Regions from separate parts of the Homo sapiens genome. Here all the other regions are linked to region 1. Evidence: promoter capture Hi-C in 16 types of primary human blood cells and fetal thymus (Javierre and others, 2016). All regions are on one chromosome and are shown on one strand. Each heading gives the region's core, a stretch centred on a gene start or on the middle of the fragment in contact. The rest is flanking DNA. Distances are from core to core; before and after follow the strand shown. Region 1 holds the start of LMTK2 (lemur tyrosine kinase 2). Region 2 has its middle 8.7 kb from the start of SDHAF3. Region 3 overlaps SDHAF3 (succinate dehydrogenase complex assembly factor 3). Region 4 overlaps SDHAF3 (succinate dehydrogenase complex assembly factor 3). Region 5 overlaps SDHAF3 (succinate dehydrogenase complex assembly factor 3).

Evidence for each region. The method cuts DNA at HindIII sites, captures the fragments that hold promoters and counts their contacts. A CHiCAGO score of 5 or more calls a contact.
Region 2: a contact is called between a fragment that was not itself captured here and the fragment with the promoter of LMTK2 in region 1, in 1 of 17 cell types (total B cells). The highest score is 5.2, in total B cells.
Region 3: a fragment that was not itself captured here is called in contact with the fragment with the promoter of LMTK2 in region 1 in 1 of 17 cell types (M2 macrophages); the score reaches 5.2 in M2 macrophages.
Region 4: a fragment that was not itself captured here is called in contact with the fragment with the promoter of LMTK2 in region 1 in 1 of 17 cell types (endothelial precursors); the score reaches 5.7 in endothelial precursors.
Region 5: a fragment that was not itself captured here is called in contact with the fragment with the promoter of LMTK2 in region 1 in 1 of 17 cell types (monocytes); the score reaches 5.0 in monocytes.

Annotation. Positions count from the first base shown.
Region 1 is chr7:98,105,233-98,108,298 of GRCh38, reverse strand. It overlaps LMTK2 (lemur tyrosine kinase 2), which reads right to left and starts at 1,437. Exons shown (of 14, transcript NM_014916.4): 1 at 1,019-1,437. The coding sequence starts at 1,121. The HindIII fragment of the contact is 4,003 bases long and covers 1-2,305 here.
Region 2 is chr7:97,107,497-97,110,562 of GRCh38, reverse strand. No RefSeq gene overlaps it. Among named protein-coding and RNA genes, the nearest start is that of SDHAF3, 8.7 kb to the left of the region's middle. The HindIII fragment of the contact is 9,433 bases long and covers 1-3,066 here.
Region 3 is chr7:97,133,086-97,136,151 of GRCh38, reverse strand. All of the region lies in intron 1 of SDHAF3 (succinate dehydrogenase complex assembly factor 3), which reads right to left. It also overlaps the pseudogene HMGB3P21. Among named protein-coding and RNA genes, the nearest start is that of SDHAF3, 17 kb to the right of the region's middle. RefSeq lists a silencer at 1,646-1,797. The HindIII fragment of the contact is 2,816 bases long and covers 1-2,807 here.
Region 4 is chr7:97,150,753-97,153,818 of GRCh38, reverse strand. The region is part of intron 1 of SDHAF3 (succinate dehydrogenase complex assembly factor 3); the gene reads right to left. All of the region lies in intron 2 of LOC107984034 (a long non-coding RNA gene), which reads right to left. Among named protein-coding and RNA genes, the nearest start is that of SDHAF3, 35 kb to the right of the region's middle. The HindIII fragment of the contact is 5,764 bases long and covers 1-3,066 here.
Region 5 is chr7:97,177,553-97,180,618 of GRCh38, reverse strand. The region is part of intron 1 of SDHAF3 (succinate dehydrogenase complex assembly factor 3); the gene reads right to left. It overlaps LOC124901704 (a long non-coding RNA gene), which reads left to right. Exons shown (of 3, transcript XR_007060445.1): 2 at 270-359. Among named protein-coding and RNA genes, the nearest start is that of SDHAF3, 61 kb to the right of the region's middle. The HindIII fragment of the contact is 4,077 bases long and covers 1-3,066 here.

The sequences.
Region 1 (3,066 bases), core at 188-2,687:
TAAAAAAAATCATACAACTAGGGGTATCTAAGACCTGGCTTTGGGGCTCTGCCTACAACGAAGCTGTGTCACCCTGGGTAGGTCATTTGACCCAACATGCCCAGTATCTCCTACTACGTAAAGAAGAAATTGGTCTAAATTTTCTTTAAGGTCTCTTCTAACTCTAACATTCTATGAATGTATGAAATTTCAATCTTTCCCCATTTCAAAGGTAATGGCGGCAGTCAATAACGCCAAGTTAGCCTAGATTTTTTTTTCCTTTTTAGAAAAATGACCCAACTTGGGATGTTTTCTTGGGTTGAAGTTTTATTTAGGAAAATAAACCCCAAATAAAAACGATGTTGAGAAAATGGGCGGGGGGGGAGAAAAGAAAATCATACACTGACGTTAGCTAAAATAGAAACTTCCATCACCCTTAAGCCAGTTTGTCAATAGTTATTCAACGCCTGCTACTCTAATCACTGGCTTCCTAAAATAGAAATATTTATAGTTGTTTCCTTCTCATCCCCGGAGATACATTCCGAATAAAAAGCACAGCGTCTAAAATCAATTTACAACTTCAGAATAAGTTGCAAGGAGCGAAAACAAACTCCGCACAGCTCGCCAAGTCATTTGCATTTAAGTATGATTAGGGCTAAGAAACGGTTCTTATGAGATGCGAAAAAAAAGCACAAGAGGCAGGTGACATCTGGAAAGGGAAGCTGAACTGCCAGGAAGCGATATAAGCTGAGGATCTTAAGGCAACAGGTCCAGGGCCGGCACCGCAGCCTATCCCGGGAGGGGTCGGTGGCTGCTACCTCGCCCGCCGCCCTCCCCAGCCCCAACGACGTCGCCTCGCTCCCGCCCCCCCAAATCCCACGCCCCTGCGGCAGAAATCTCCCTAATCACTCGCCTCCCTGGGCTTCCCGCCCCCGGCAGGCCCTCCGATTCCTCGGCGCCGAGGCCGGCCCGGCCCTGCCGCCCCCTCCCCTCCACGCCGAAGACCCCGCAGCCCCGTCCCCGCCGCGGGCCCGCTCACCTGCACCTGTTTGCGGAAGTGGCGCGGCCCCAGCACTGCCGGCGATCAGGAGGACCAGCAGCAGCAGCAGCAGCCTCCGCCGCAACGCCGGCGGCCCCGGCATCTCGCCCACGGCGCGGCTCCGGGGCCGGCCCTCGAGTCGCCTTCCGTCCGTCCGTCCGTTCGCCCGTCAGTCGATCCTGCCTCCCTCCGCTGCCTCAGTGGCACCCGCGCCGGTTGCTCCCGAGCACACGTTGCTTCTGCCAAACCTCGGTCCGGCTCCCGGTCCGCACCTGCCGCTCCAGTCGCAGAAACACCATCCTTCCCGCCCGCCTGCGCCGCCGCCGCCGCCTCTCAACAGCAGCAACGCCAGCAGCCCTGCGGAGCGGCGGGCCTGGGAAGCCGCGCTCCCGCCGCCATGATGGGCTGCGTCATGTGACGTAGCGCGGGGGCGGGATGTCGTGATGGACAGGGCGGCCAGCCACTCGTCAGTCCACACCGGCCCAGGAGGCCCCGCCCATCATCCTGAAGGAGTGAGCGGTGGCGGCCGGTGCGCCCCCTGCAGACGGAGGAGTGCGTGGGCAGCAGGTAACACCAACAATTATTTTAAATTGAAAAATACAGGAAAATGTAAAGAAGACCATGACAATCATCCTGATATTTTTTTCTCGGTGTTTTATAACATGCAAAAATAGGCCTGTCTTGTCTTCTGCCTTTTTTTTTTTTTTACTTGTCAGAGCTGTTTTAGGCTCTTCTCCTTAAGTTGACCTACACATCCTCTCAGCCATCAAACAGCTTTGGGCTTTTCACTTGAATTGATCAAGAGAATGCCTCTCTCGGCATCACCCACTGACTCACCTCCTGAGCTCAAGCTGTTGCCTCTTGTCCACCTGGCAGACACTCTTCCTTTCATCTGTCGAGACTCACCTGACATATGACTTCATCTATGACTCTCTAGGAGAAATGACTGTCATCTCCTTAGTGCCCCGCCCTGGCCCTGTGTGGACTGCTATCCTAGCTGCAGTATCCTATTGACCCGTGACTGTAAGCTCCCTGAGGACAGCAACTGTGTCTGATTCAGCTGGTGGGAAATCCCTGGTGCAGGACCTGGGTCGGAGCAGGTGTTCTCTAAAGCAATGGTGCATGGCCCTGGTCCCAGGTACCAGGGCAGAGCAGCTCCCAGGGGTGGCCTTCTCCCCACCAAGAGGTGAGGTGAGAACACAGTCCTGCAGAGAGGATAGAGAAAGCACTCTCCAGACACAAGTAATATAGTGGTCAGAGGCATGGGGGTTGGGAAAATGCTAAGCTTTTCTGGAGAGGCGCTATGGTTCAGTGTGTGCATGAGAGGAGCTGATTTCAATCTTATCAGATGAGACTTTGCCACCTGGCAACAGTGTAACCTCCCCAATTCTCCAAACTCCCCAAATGTCCATCCTAAATGCCAGCTGTCGATGATGTTAACACAGCACTGGACACACAGATGATGCCCAGGGAATATTTGTTGGATGATTGAGGCAAGCCAATAAATATCTAAGGAGACAAATACCTGGAACGAGAAACATTGAATTTAAAAGTCCATGGCTTGGCTGGGCACGGTGGCTCACACCTGTAATCTCAGCACTTTGGGAGGCCAAGGTGGGTGAATCACTTCAGACCAGGAGTTCAAGACCAGCCTGGCCAACATGGTCATACCCCATCTCTACTAAAAATACAAAAAGTATTAGCCAGACACGGTGACGCATGCCTGTAATCCCAGCTGCTTGGGAGGCTGAGGCAGGAAAATTGCTCGAACCCAGGAGGCGGAGGTTGCGGTGAGCTGAGATCACACCGCTGCACTCCAGCCTGGGCGACACAGCGAGACTCTGTCTTAAAAAAAAAAAAGTTCACGGCTTTCTGCTGATTATATGCAGAATTGGTAAGGAAGGCAAAGGTCTAGGAAAGAGACACAATCACCCTGTTGTACTTCTACTTCTTTTTTTTTTTTCTTTGAGACAGAGTCTGTCTCTGTCACCAGGCTAGAATGCAGTGGTGCGATCTCAGCTCACTGCAACCTCTGCCTCCTGGGTTCA
Region 2 (3,066 bases), core at 293-2,792, 1.0 Mb after region 1:
CTATTATTGTGTTTCATGGTCTGTTTGAACTACTCCCTGCTGTCATATTTTGTGTTTTCTACTAACCACAATTTCCAGATTTTTTTGACTGTATTGCCTTTTATTGAACTACCAGTTGGAAACTTTTAAATTCTATTTCTTTTTTCTTTTTTTTTTTTTTTGTGAGACAGAGTCTCGCTCTGTCACCCAGGCTGGAGCACAGTGGTGCGACCTCAGCTCACTGCAAGCTCCGCCTTCCGGGTTCATGCCATTCTCCTACCTCAGCCTCCCGAGTAGCTGGGACTACAGGTGCCTGCCACCACCCCCGGCTAATTTTTTTGTATTTTTAGTAGAGATGGGGTTTCAGCGTGTTAGCCAGGATGGTCTCAATCTCCTGACCTTGTGATCCACCCGCCTCAGCCTCCCAGGGTGCTGGGATTACAGGTGTGAGCCACCACGCCCGGCCTTTTAAATTCTATTTCTGTTGTTCTAGTCATCACCCTTGCATTTTCAACATGTATCCATAATATCATATTGTTCAAACAATATCTAAGGTTAATCAGTTCCTATATGCTCCTCCAAATAAGACAGGAACATTAGCATGATTTTATTTCCCTCCCTGCCTGTCCTCTGCAATGTCCTATATTGATGTCTATTCCAATTGTAGGTTCAGATTATTGTTCAAATTTAGTTTCCCTATTCTTAGTGATACACTATCCTCTGTTCTCATCCTGTTCTGCTTGCTCTGTTAACTGTTTCCTGAGGTATAAGTACTTATATTTGTTGAGTTCATTGTATTTCCGGGTGTTGGCTTTCCACAAATACGAACAATTCTGACTAGGTACTTACTTTTGTATTTCAGATGCCCAGTTAGTGTGTCTCTTCTCTCAAAGGAAAGACAAGACAGGCTACCAAGGATTGTATGTCTATCAATTTTCAGTAAGAGTAAGGGAGTAGAGACAATGTGCCACTAGGATATCTTGCCAGTCTGAGTATCTTAGTGGGTATCTTAGTCTTACACTTGTGGAAATTCCTACCCTCTTGTGTGCCCTTGTTATCCACTTAAGGGCACATTCTTATCTCTCTGACCCAATCTCCCATACCCATTGCCTTCACCTGGAGGCAGCCACCTGGCTGATCCTACTGTGGTACCCTGACTAATCACCCTGTTTGCTGCCAAGACCCTCCCTGCTCATAGTGTTTATCTCTTCCAGGTGTGGTACATTCTGGGAATCACTCTTACCTGCTTCTAACAGTACTCATGTACTTACCTTTTGGGCTGAGCTTTCTTTTTCAATGAGAGCTACTCTCCATCACCCAGGGAATCTTCACAGTTTCTGAAGTTTCAATACTTACAGTACTGTTATTTCTGGTAAGATTATGAATGTAGTTCCCAATTTTGAACAACACATTATCTCTTTTACATATAAACAGATATTTTACATAACTTGTTTAAAAACTTTAAAACAGAATTCATATTACTTTAAATTATTAATATTAAATTCCCCATCTTTTCCAATCCAGTTACAGCTTTTTAAAATATACGTTATCTCATTTCTAAAGATTAGTAGGAATGGGAGGTTGGGGTGTGTTTCCAGTCTATTATTTTAGCATTTGAAGAATGATATATTATTTTCAGTTGTAAAAAAAAAATGAAATGTAAATGTCCAACACCAAGGAATTAATTAAATTATGATATAGCCATATAATGGAATATTAAATATGCTTTTAAAAATGATGTTAAGTATGATATTTTAATGACAAAACACATCAAATTATTGTTAATAATCAAGAGCAGGATACAAATATATATAATATATATGATTTTAGTCATTTTTTAAAAATAGAAACTCTAGAAGCAAACATGCTAAAATACTTACTGGTAAGATTATGAATGTAGTTCCCAGTTTTGAACAATAAGTTATATCTCTTTTACATGTAAAAAGATATTTTACATTACTGGCTTAAAAACTGTTGAAAACAAAGAATTCATATTACTTTAAAGTTTCCATAAAAATCTTGACAAAAGCTGATCAAAAATTAGATGATATTGCAAAGAAAAATTTAAACGCATTTTTTAAAACCAGGAATTTTATAGATCTTATTCTCTGACCACAATGCACAAAATTAGAAAATCATAATACTTACTATGTAGCCACAAAAATTAAAACAACATGAAAGTACAACCACTCAAAAATTCTAAAGCATCCTTATACATAAATCTTAGAACAAAGAAAGGAACATAAAAACAGAATATTTAGAAAATATTAAAAAGATACTTAAGGGCTGGGAACAACACAAAACAAAATGGATTATATTTCAAATTGTGTGATCATATACTCAGGCACTCATCTAGGAAGACATTATAGATGAGTGGAATCTAAGCTGTGCCTTGAATAATGATATCATATAGACAGGTTAAGAAAAGACCTGAGGTTTTTCAAAAGAGAAAAACAACATGAAAAGCAACACTGAGCTTGTGTTGTTAGAACAGTGAAGAAACCAAACTGATTAGAATAATGAATAGCCTATTGTAGGCAGAATAGAAAATAGTCCTTTAAAAAATAGGAATATTTGTTTGGATCTAGAAAGAATTATATATGTATAATATATAGTATTATATAATTACATATCTTTATATATTTATTAACGTATAATTTTACAGGTGGTAAAATGGGCCAGAGAAGTTAAGTGACATCCTACGTTGAATGGGTGTTGATTATGAAACTGGTCCATTGTCCCATAAAACTGATGTTTATGGTTTCTTTTGAATAAACATAGAAATAGACCCTCCCAAGACTTTTTTAGTTATTCCCTATATTGTTTAACGGATAATGGCAAGAAAAAAATGTCTGGGAGATTCCTAAGACTTAAGAAAGTTACATTTTTCTTATCTGAGTTACTTTCTCAGGAAACCAAACATCAGGCCTTCCACATAGTATCAAGGAACTGAAACTTACTAAATCACTGCATTTGGACAATGAGATGCCAGATCCCTTAGCCATTATTATTGCCTAACTGACCACCTGCTTCCTGTTGGCCAATTCCTCTTCCTTACCCCTCCCTAATTCCTGTTTTCCCACACAT
Region 3 (3,066 bases), core at 150-2,649, 970 kb after region 1:
CCTATTAGTCTTTGTCCTAACAGCTCGACAAATATTGCAGGTGAAACATTAACTGAAAATGGCATAGAAATGCATATTTAAGATAGTCTCTGACAAATACATTTATATCTATCCTAATCATCATGAACCTACCAAATTCTTCTTTAAAAATATATACAGGGACTAGCCCGGGCATGGTGGCTCACACCTGTAATCCCAGCACTTTGGGAGGCCGAGGCGGGCGGATCACGAGGTCAGGAGATCGAGACCATCCTGGCTAACACGGTGAAACCCCGTCTCTACTAAAAATACAAAAAATTAGCCAGGCGTGGTGGCGGGCGCCTGTAGTCCCAGCTACTCAGGAGGCTGAGGCAGAAGAATGGTGTGAACCTGGGAGGCGGAGCTTGCAGTGAGCCGAGATTGAGCCACTGCACTCCAGCCTGGGCGACAGAGTGAGACTCTGTCTCCCAAAAAAAAAAAAAAAAAAAAATATATATATATATACACACACACACACACACACACACACACACACGCACGCACATACATCTCACACACACACACACACAGACACACACACACACACACACATATGGGGACTAGCAAATAATGCAGTCAATAATGACTAAAGGTGACCCCAAGAAACCAATGGGCTAAGATCTACTTTCCCTTCTTTGTATAGGCCAGAAGTACAAAAAGAAAAATCCAGAGATCCCCATTAGTGTTGCAGGTTTTTAAGAAGTCCTCTTGCAGGTCAGAGACAACGTCTAAGAAAGGAATCTAAATTTGATGATCTGGAAATGAAGCATTTTGGAGCAGCTAAGAGAGGCAGGAAGAAGGATCCTAATGTCCACAAACTATCACTGCCAGCTAGCTTCTTGTTCTGTTTAGAGTTGTATCCTAAGAACAAATCCACAAACACTGGCATCTTAACTGAAGACCAAAATGTTAGGTATGATGTAGAGTACCCTTACTGATAACAAAAAGCAGCCTTACAATAATAAGGGGGTAAAGCTCAATGAGAAATATGACAAGGATGTAGCCACTTCAGGAAAATTTGACAGTGCAAAGGAGAAAGCTAAAGTTCCTTGGGGGGAAAAAAAAAAAAGAGGAGTAGGATGAACAGGATGACAGACAGGAGAAAGAGAGGGTTAAAGGAAGGGGGTATGAAGAAGAAATAAAACTGAGCATCTCTTTCCATGTAAAATCCAGAGTAGGGAAAACATCATAATACACCTCTCTGAGAATGTCTCTGCCCTTACTAGATTTAATTACAAAATTAGAATATGATCACATGTCAGTTTCTCTAAAAGTGTTCTGAAAATCTTAAGTATGTGCATTAAACAGTCAGGGGTGTTATGAGCACCCAGAAACTGTATCAAACTTGCAAAAATGTCCAAACATTTTAAAGTAAGAACATCTTCTCAGCTGGGTGAGGTGGCTCACACCTGTAACCCCAGCACTTTGGGAGGCCAAGGCAGACGGGTCATCTGAGGTCAGGAGTTCAAGACCAGCCTGGCCAACATACTGAAACCTCATATCTACTAAAAATACAAAAATTAGCCAGGCATGTTGGCAGGCACTTGTAATACCAGCTACTTGGGGGGCTGAGGCAGGAGAATCACATGAACCTGGGAGGTGGAGGTTGCAGTGAGCCAAGATCATGCCACTGCACTCCAGCCTGGGAGACACAGCAAGACTCCGTCTCAAAAACGAAAGTTCTTTTCACTCTGTGCATCTTTCTCTTAGTCTTATAAAAGCATTTAATGATAGTCACAGCATTTTTCTTTTAAAGTGGTGTTCATTCTGGTTATTCACCAGTAATCCAGAGTTATCAGTTATATATATCTATAGCTTATAAAATAAATAAATCACAAACTCTTGAGGCCCATGATTGGAAGTGTGAGGCAATAAACATGTTACTTTTGGGAGGGGCCACATTCAAGGCATGTGGTGTGAAGCCAGATTCACTGAGGCTGCAGGTGGCAGCCATCTCACCCAGGTAGCTGCTGTAGCTGTTTTTGCAGTAACGTGTTTGCTGTATCATCTGCTGCCATTCTGAGCTTTGGAAAGGGGGGAGGGAGTCAGCTGCATGAAAAGTGTATGGATTGGTTTTTAAGTGGGATAGTTCTTAAACAAACTATAGACCTCTTCGTCAGTAAAGAGTTATTGCACCAAAGTCCAGAAACTGTTCCTACTTAACCTATGACATGTACAATAATATTCCAGTTTTGGCCTTGGGTTTTTGTTTGTGTGTTTATAACAATGAAATGTCTTTTAAAGGAAAATAAACCATACTATAATTTTTAAATCTATTCGAATAAAGCACAAATATTTTAGTGTTTTAGAGCTCTGAAAGCAAAGTGCAATTTACTTTAGAAATGCTTTGAGTTACACTGATTTAGGAGTAAAGAAGAACACAAACTTGTAAATGAGGCAAATACCATTCTCCCTCCTCTAGGGTTAAGCTAATTAAATTTACACACAAAGAGAAGAATCTGAAATTTTTCAGGCCTAGGAAAAATAAGTAAGAAGTAGTTTAATCCATTAACACGTGTAATAGTAACAATAATACCTCAACAGAAAGAAGGTGGTAAACCTAAAAATAAAGGATTGAGGGCAAACTTACAATATGCATTCAGTACTGTTCAGGAAAAAAGGGCAACGAAGCTGTAGGACCCACAAAAATAATCACTAAAGGGATGTTTTCTACTGCAGACACAGTGAGGTCTGATGAAAAAAGCTCTCACGCCTACCCACTCCCTGTCATTTTAATTCCATGTTTACCAGGCAACCTTCTAAACACTAATTCAGTTTCCCAGAAAGCTTAATAGAGGTCCACAATCCCCTGAAGTCAAAGAAGTTCTTAAAAACAAAAGCTCTTTCAGAACTTATCTGGCAGCAAATCCTGACATAAATGTACATAAAGTCTTTATTTACTCCACTTACTGTGAATATTCAAATTTTTTCTGCAGACATACTAATGTATTTGATTACAGTACCACCCTAGATCCCACTCGGTGTTTCTTAAAATTCACTAAATATTACTTCTTCACTTTCTAAAATCTAAAAAAAATACATGATTCT
Region 4 (3,066 bases), core at 323-2,822, 950 kb after region 1:
AGAAACTCTCATTCACTGCTGGTGGAAATGTAAAACGGTCACTAAAACGCTGGCAAGGATATGCTACAGAAACTCTCATTCACTGCTGGTGGAAATATAAAATGGTCACCAAAACGCTGGCAAGGATATGCTACAGAAACTCTCATTCACCGCTGGTGGAAATGTAAAATGGTACAGCCACTTTGGAAGACACTTTACAATTTCTAACAAAACTAAACATACTCTTACCATATGATCCAGCAATTGCATTCCTTGGTATTTATCCAAAGAAGTTGAAAAATTATGTACACTCAAAACCCTGCAAACGGATGTTTACTGCAGCTTCATTCATAATTGACAAAACTTGGAAGCAACCAGGATATCCTTCAGTAGGTAAATGAACAAACTGCAGTACACCCAGACAATGAAATATTTATCAGAGCTAAAAAGAAATGATCAAGCCATGAAAAGACACATAGGAAACTTAAACGCATATTACCAAATAAAAGCAGCCAAGAAGCCAATTTGAAAAGGCTACATTCTGTATGATTCCAACATGTAACACGCCAGAAAAGGCAAAACTAGGGTGAGAGTACACAGATCAGTGGAGAAACCACCTTTGCAAAAATTACAAGTGAGAAAATTATGACAGCAAAAGAGATATGACCTAATCAACTGCATCGTGACTTTAACCTCCCAACTGCCCTTGTTCATTCCTAGGTGTAGGTCTAGCTAACTTTGTGAGGAATTTACACTTTAATTTTGAAACAAAGACAGTGACAGGCCCTCCCCAAAACAAACATCCTCCTTGCTTGGAGACTAGATCACCTTTGTAAAACTAACAAATTTGCCACAAAATAAGAAATAATGGCTCAGGGCCAGATGCAGTGGTTCATGCCTGTAATCCCAGCACTTTGGGAGGCCATGGCGGGCATGGCGGGAGACCATTGCTTGAGGTCAGGAGTTCAAGACTGGCCAAGATGGCAAAACCCTGTCTCTACTAAACCACCACGCCTACAAAAATTTGCTGGGCATGGTGGCACACATCTGTAGTCCCAGCTACTCAGGAGGCTGAGGCACAAGGATCGCTTGAACCTGGGAGGCAGGGGTTGCAGTGACCTGAGATTGCGCCATTGCAATCCAGCCTGGGCGAAAGAGCGAGACTCCATCTCAAAATAAATAAATAAATAAATAAATAAACAAAATAATGGCTCAGAAGTCACGCAGTCAGAGGCCATAAACTTCCTAACCTCCTCAATTGCTCCTATGGATAACATTACTACTGTAAAACCTAAGACTGATGTTTGACATATTTTTCAGACCCTGCATTCTAATGGATCCACTGGTGTTACCCAGACCCATAAACTGGGATATCTGGTCTTGTGACCTCCCACCCAGGAACTGACTCCATGCAAGAGGACAGATTCAACTCCCTATTATTTCATCCCTAACTTAACCAATCAGCATTTCCCATTCCCTAGTCCATGCCTGCCAAACTATCTTTCAAAAACCCTAGCTTCCAAATTTTCAGGGAGGCTGATATGAGTAATACCAAAACTCCAGTCTCCAATTTAGTTGGCTCTATGTGTATGAAACAGTTTCTCTATTGCAATTCCCATCTTGATAAATTGGCTTCATCTGGCAGAAGGCAAGTAGAACCCATTGGGGGTTACAGTTGTGGGTTATCAGAGGTTGGTGAGGGGGATGAACCGGCAGGGCAGAGAGAATTTTTAGGGCAGTGAAAATATACTATATACTACTATAAAGATGGATACATGTCGTTATACATTTGTCTAAACTCACAGAAAGTAAGAAAACAAGAGTAAACCCTACATGTAAATGATGAACTCTGGGTGATCTTAATGTGTCAATGTAGTATTGGGGCTCAGAAAATGATACCCCAAAGTAAGGCTCTTTGGTATCATGACTGGGGAACAGCAGGGAACCAGTGGATGCAAGCTGAAGTTTTCTCTGAGGACCCCTAATCTGCCTAAAGATGGATCTGGAAAGACCGTACCACAGGAAAAAGAGACTAAAGGTTGGCCGAGCGTGGTGGCTCATGCCTGTAATCCCAGCACTTTGGGAGGCCGAGGCAGGCAGATCACGAGGTCAGAAGATTGGGACCATCCTGGTGAACACTGTGAAACCCCGTCTCTACTAAAAATACAAAAAAATTAGCCAGGCATGGTGGCAAGCGCCTGTAGTCCCAGCTACTCGGGAGGCTGAGGCAGGAGAATGGCAGGAACCCGGGGGGCAGAGCTTGCAGTGAGCGGAGATTGTGCCACTGCACTCCAGCCTGGGGGACAGAGGGAGACTCCAACTCAAAAAAAAAAAAAGGACTAAAGGTTAGCAACCTCACCCAGAGCAGCTTTACCCATTCTTTGGAGGGCTGCTCCCCGAGATATTTTAATCTATGTAGCAAGACAACCTTTGTTCCCTAGATTTCTTCCCCTCACCCTCCCAAAGCCTGTCTGTCCTCACCTCCACTCCCTAGAAGCCCCAAGCCCCTATTTCTTTCTGCAGCTACAGATATTATAAAAATTCCAATCATCTGGCCTTTCTGAGTCTTTTATTTTGTGAGACTCTCGTGTATATGCACATAATAAATCCGTATGCCTTTCTCCTATTAATCTGTCTGCTTTCAGTTTATCACAGATTCAACTACAGAAACTTCGGAGTGTGCAGTAAAAGTTCCCGTCACCCCTACAGTTTGTTCATCTATTGTAACAAATGTACTACTCCAGTGGGGGATGCTGATAATGGGAGAGGTTATGCATATGTTGGGGCAGAAGGTATATGGAAAATCTCTGTGCTTTCCTCTTAATTTTGCCAAGAACCTAAAACTAATCTTAATATATTAAGTCTTAAAACACACTAACAAACAACTGACAGCCAGGCGCAGTGGTGCAGGCCTGTAGTCCCAGCTACTGAGTATTTTAACCCCGCTATTCAGACTACTGATCAGAAAAAGATTCCTAGGCCGGGTGCGGTGGCTCACACCTGTAATCCCAGCACTTTGGGAGGCCATGGCGGAAGGATCACAAGGTCAGGAGATCGAGACTATCCTGGCTAACAAGTGAAATCCCG
Region 5 (3,066 bases), core at 181-2,680, 930 kb after region 1:
AACTTTTATTTTAAACCTGCACATATATCCCCTAGATACAAGGGGTACATGTGCAGGTTTGTTAGATGGGAATAACTGCATGATGCTCAAGTTTGGGTACAGGTCCTGTCACCCAGGGAGTAAGCACAATACCCAACATGTAGCTTTTCAACCCATACCACCCTCCAGTAGTCCATGCTGTCAGCTGTTCCCAGTTTACATCCATGTGTGCTCAATGTTTAGCTCCCACTTAAAATTTTATTTTTCTGTTCCTGTGTTAATTTGCCTAGGATCATGGCATCTATGTTGCTGCAAAGGACATGCTTTCATCCTATTTATGGCAGCACAGTATTCCACGGTGACATGTAACACATCTTCAAGTGAGTCTAAATTCATTCCTATGTCTTCAATTACAATTTTAATTTAAAATATACTAGAGAAAAACTTCTTAAACCTTTAAGTCTTCAATGTTTAACAACCATCTGTGTCAAGAAAAACTTTTTCATGTTCTAATTTTGCTCTTATTAAGTACATTCAGCCTAATATTCCAACTATCCCCATCTGCACAAGTGCCACTGTTTTGAAACAGACTCACTCTAAAATTAATCTTTTAAGCAGACAAAGTGCCAAAGTATTTTAGTTCATGAAGTTAAAGTGAATGAACTGGCTAACTCTGGATAATGCTGCTACCTGATCTGGCTTGAGATATATAAATTGCTTGTAATTGCTGGAATGGCAGCATTGCCAGAGCAACTTTAATTCCAAACATTCCAAACCTATGGAGAAAATATTTTTTCCATGATTTACAGAAATCCACTTATTAAGATGAAAACATTTCAAGTTTTATCAATTCCACTTCTATATGCTTCAGGGCAGGCAGGGTTTTTCAACCTTGGCACTATTTTGTGTGTGTAGGGGGGGTAGGGGTGGGGAGGGGTCAGTGAGAGTCTGCATTGCAGGATGTTTAGCAGCATCTCTTGTCTCTGACCACCAGATGGCAGTAACACCCCTCTCCCCGTCTTGATAATCTAAAATGTCTCGAAACACTGCCAAAGGTTTCCTGGCAAGGCAAAAATCACCCTACCATCCTAAAGAAACTTTAAAACATGTGAACAAGTATCATGCAGAAGAATGTTGATTGTTAAAGCAAAAAAAAAAAAAAAAATGGAAATAATTGTACTTCAATAGAAAAGTCAAATACACTGAAATTTACTCAGATGATAATAAAGATGTCACAACAAATAAGCTACAAGTCTATGTATCAACACGGATGAAACTCCAAAAAATAAAATCTAAAAAGCAGGCTTTAAGAAATTATTCATTTACAAAAATGGACAACTAAGGAGCTCTAAATAGCAAAAACAGAGGACTCACAACTCCCAATTTCAAAACTTAACTAGAAAGCCACATTAAACAAAAGTGTGGCACTGGCATTAGAATAGATATATAACACCAATAGAATGAGGAGTCCAGAAGTAAATCCTTACATATATAGCCAATTGATTTTTGATAAAGATGTCAAATCCATTCAGTGGAGGAAAGAATAATCTAGGCAACAACTGGTGCTGGGAAAACTGAATTTCCACATGCAAAAGAGTGAAGTTAGACACCCCATCTTCTACCATATACAAAAATTAACTCAAAGTGAATCAAAGACCTAAATATAAGAGCTAAAATCATGAGAATCCTAGAAGAAAATATATAGGTAAATCTTTATGACCTTTGATTTGGCAATAGGTTCTTAGATATGACACCAAAAGCCCAAGCAACAACAACAAAAATAAACTGGACAGTATCAAAATTAAATACTTCTGTGCATCAAAGGACACCTAATAGTAAAAAGACAAACTACAAAATGAGAAAAAATTTGCAAATCGTATCTGAAAAGGGTTTATTATCCAGAATATATAAAGAACCACAACTAAAAGACAAATAGCCCAATTTAAAAATGGGTAAAGCACATGAATAGACATTTCTCCAAAGATATACAGATGGCCAAGTACATGAAAAGATGGTCAAAATCATTTGCCATTAGAAAAATGTAAATCAAAACCACAATGAGATGCCACTTCACCCTAAGATGTCTACTATAATAATTTTTTAAACCCCAGAAAAATAACAGTTGGAATAAACTAGAATCCTCATACATTGATAATGAGAATATAAAATGGTATAGCCACTGCAGAAAAGACTGGCAGTTCCTCAGAAAGTTAAACACAGAATTACCATATGATCCAGCAAATGCACTCATAGGTATATTACCAAAATAACTGAGAACAGGAACTCAAACACATACTTGTATACACAATAGACGACATTTGGAAAATAACCTAGATGTCCACCAGCAAGCAGATAAACAAAATGTGGTATACACATACAATGGAATATTTATCACCCTTAAAAGGGAATGAAGTTCTGATCCATACTACAACATGGATAAACCTTAAAAAGATTATGCTAAGAAGCCAAACATAAAAAGACATATTGTATGATTCCACTTACATGAAATATCTAGAATAGGAAAATTCATAGACAGAAAGAATAGATAATACTAAGGGCTGGGAGGAGGTAGGAGAGGGTGTTACTGTTTAATGGCCACCGAGTTTCCGTTTGGGTGAGGAAAAATCTAGAATAATGTCTCTACAATGTATCATTTACAGTGTCCAGGAAAAAAATTAAAAATTATTACAAACACAGTTAAGAGAAGAGGCAATCAATGGAGACCAGTGCCTGAGATTATTCAGACATTAGAATAAGCAGAGATAGATTTTAAAGCAGGTACTATAAATGTTAAGTATGTAAAAGAAAATACGGTCATCATAAATGGGGCAGATAAATCTCAGCAGAGAATGAGGAATTATAAGAACCAAATAAATTCTAGAACTCAAAAATGCACTATCTGGAATTTTTTAAATGTCACTTAATAGTAGACTGGAGATGAAGATTCATGAACTTGAAAATACAGCAATAGAAATTATCCAGTTTTAAACAGAACAAAACTATTTAAAAAATGAGTAAAAGATCAGTGATCTGTGAAACAATGCCAAAAGATCTACCGTAAGTTTAAGTGGAATCCAAGAAAAGAGG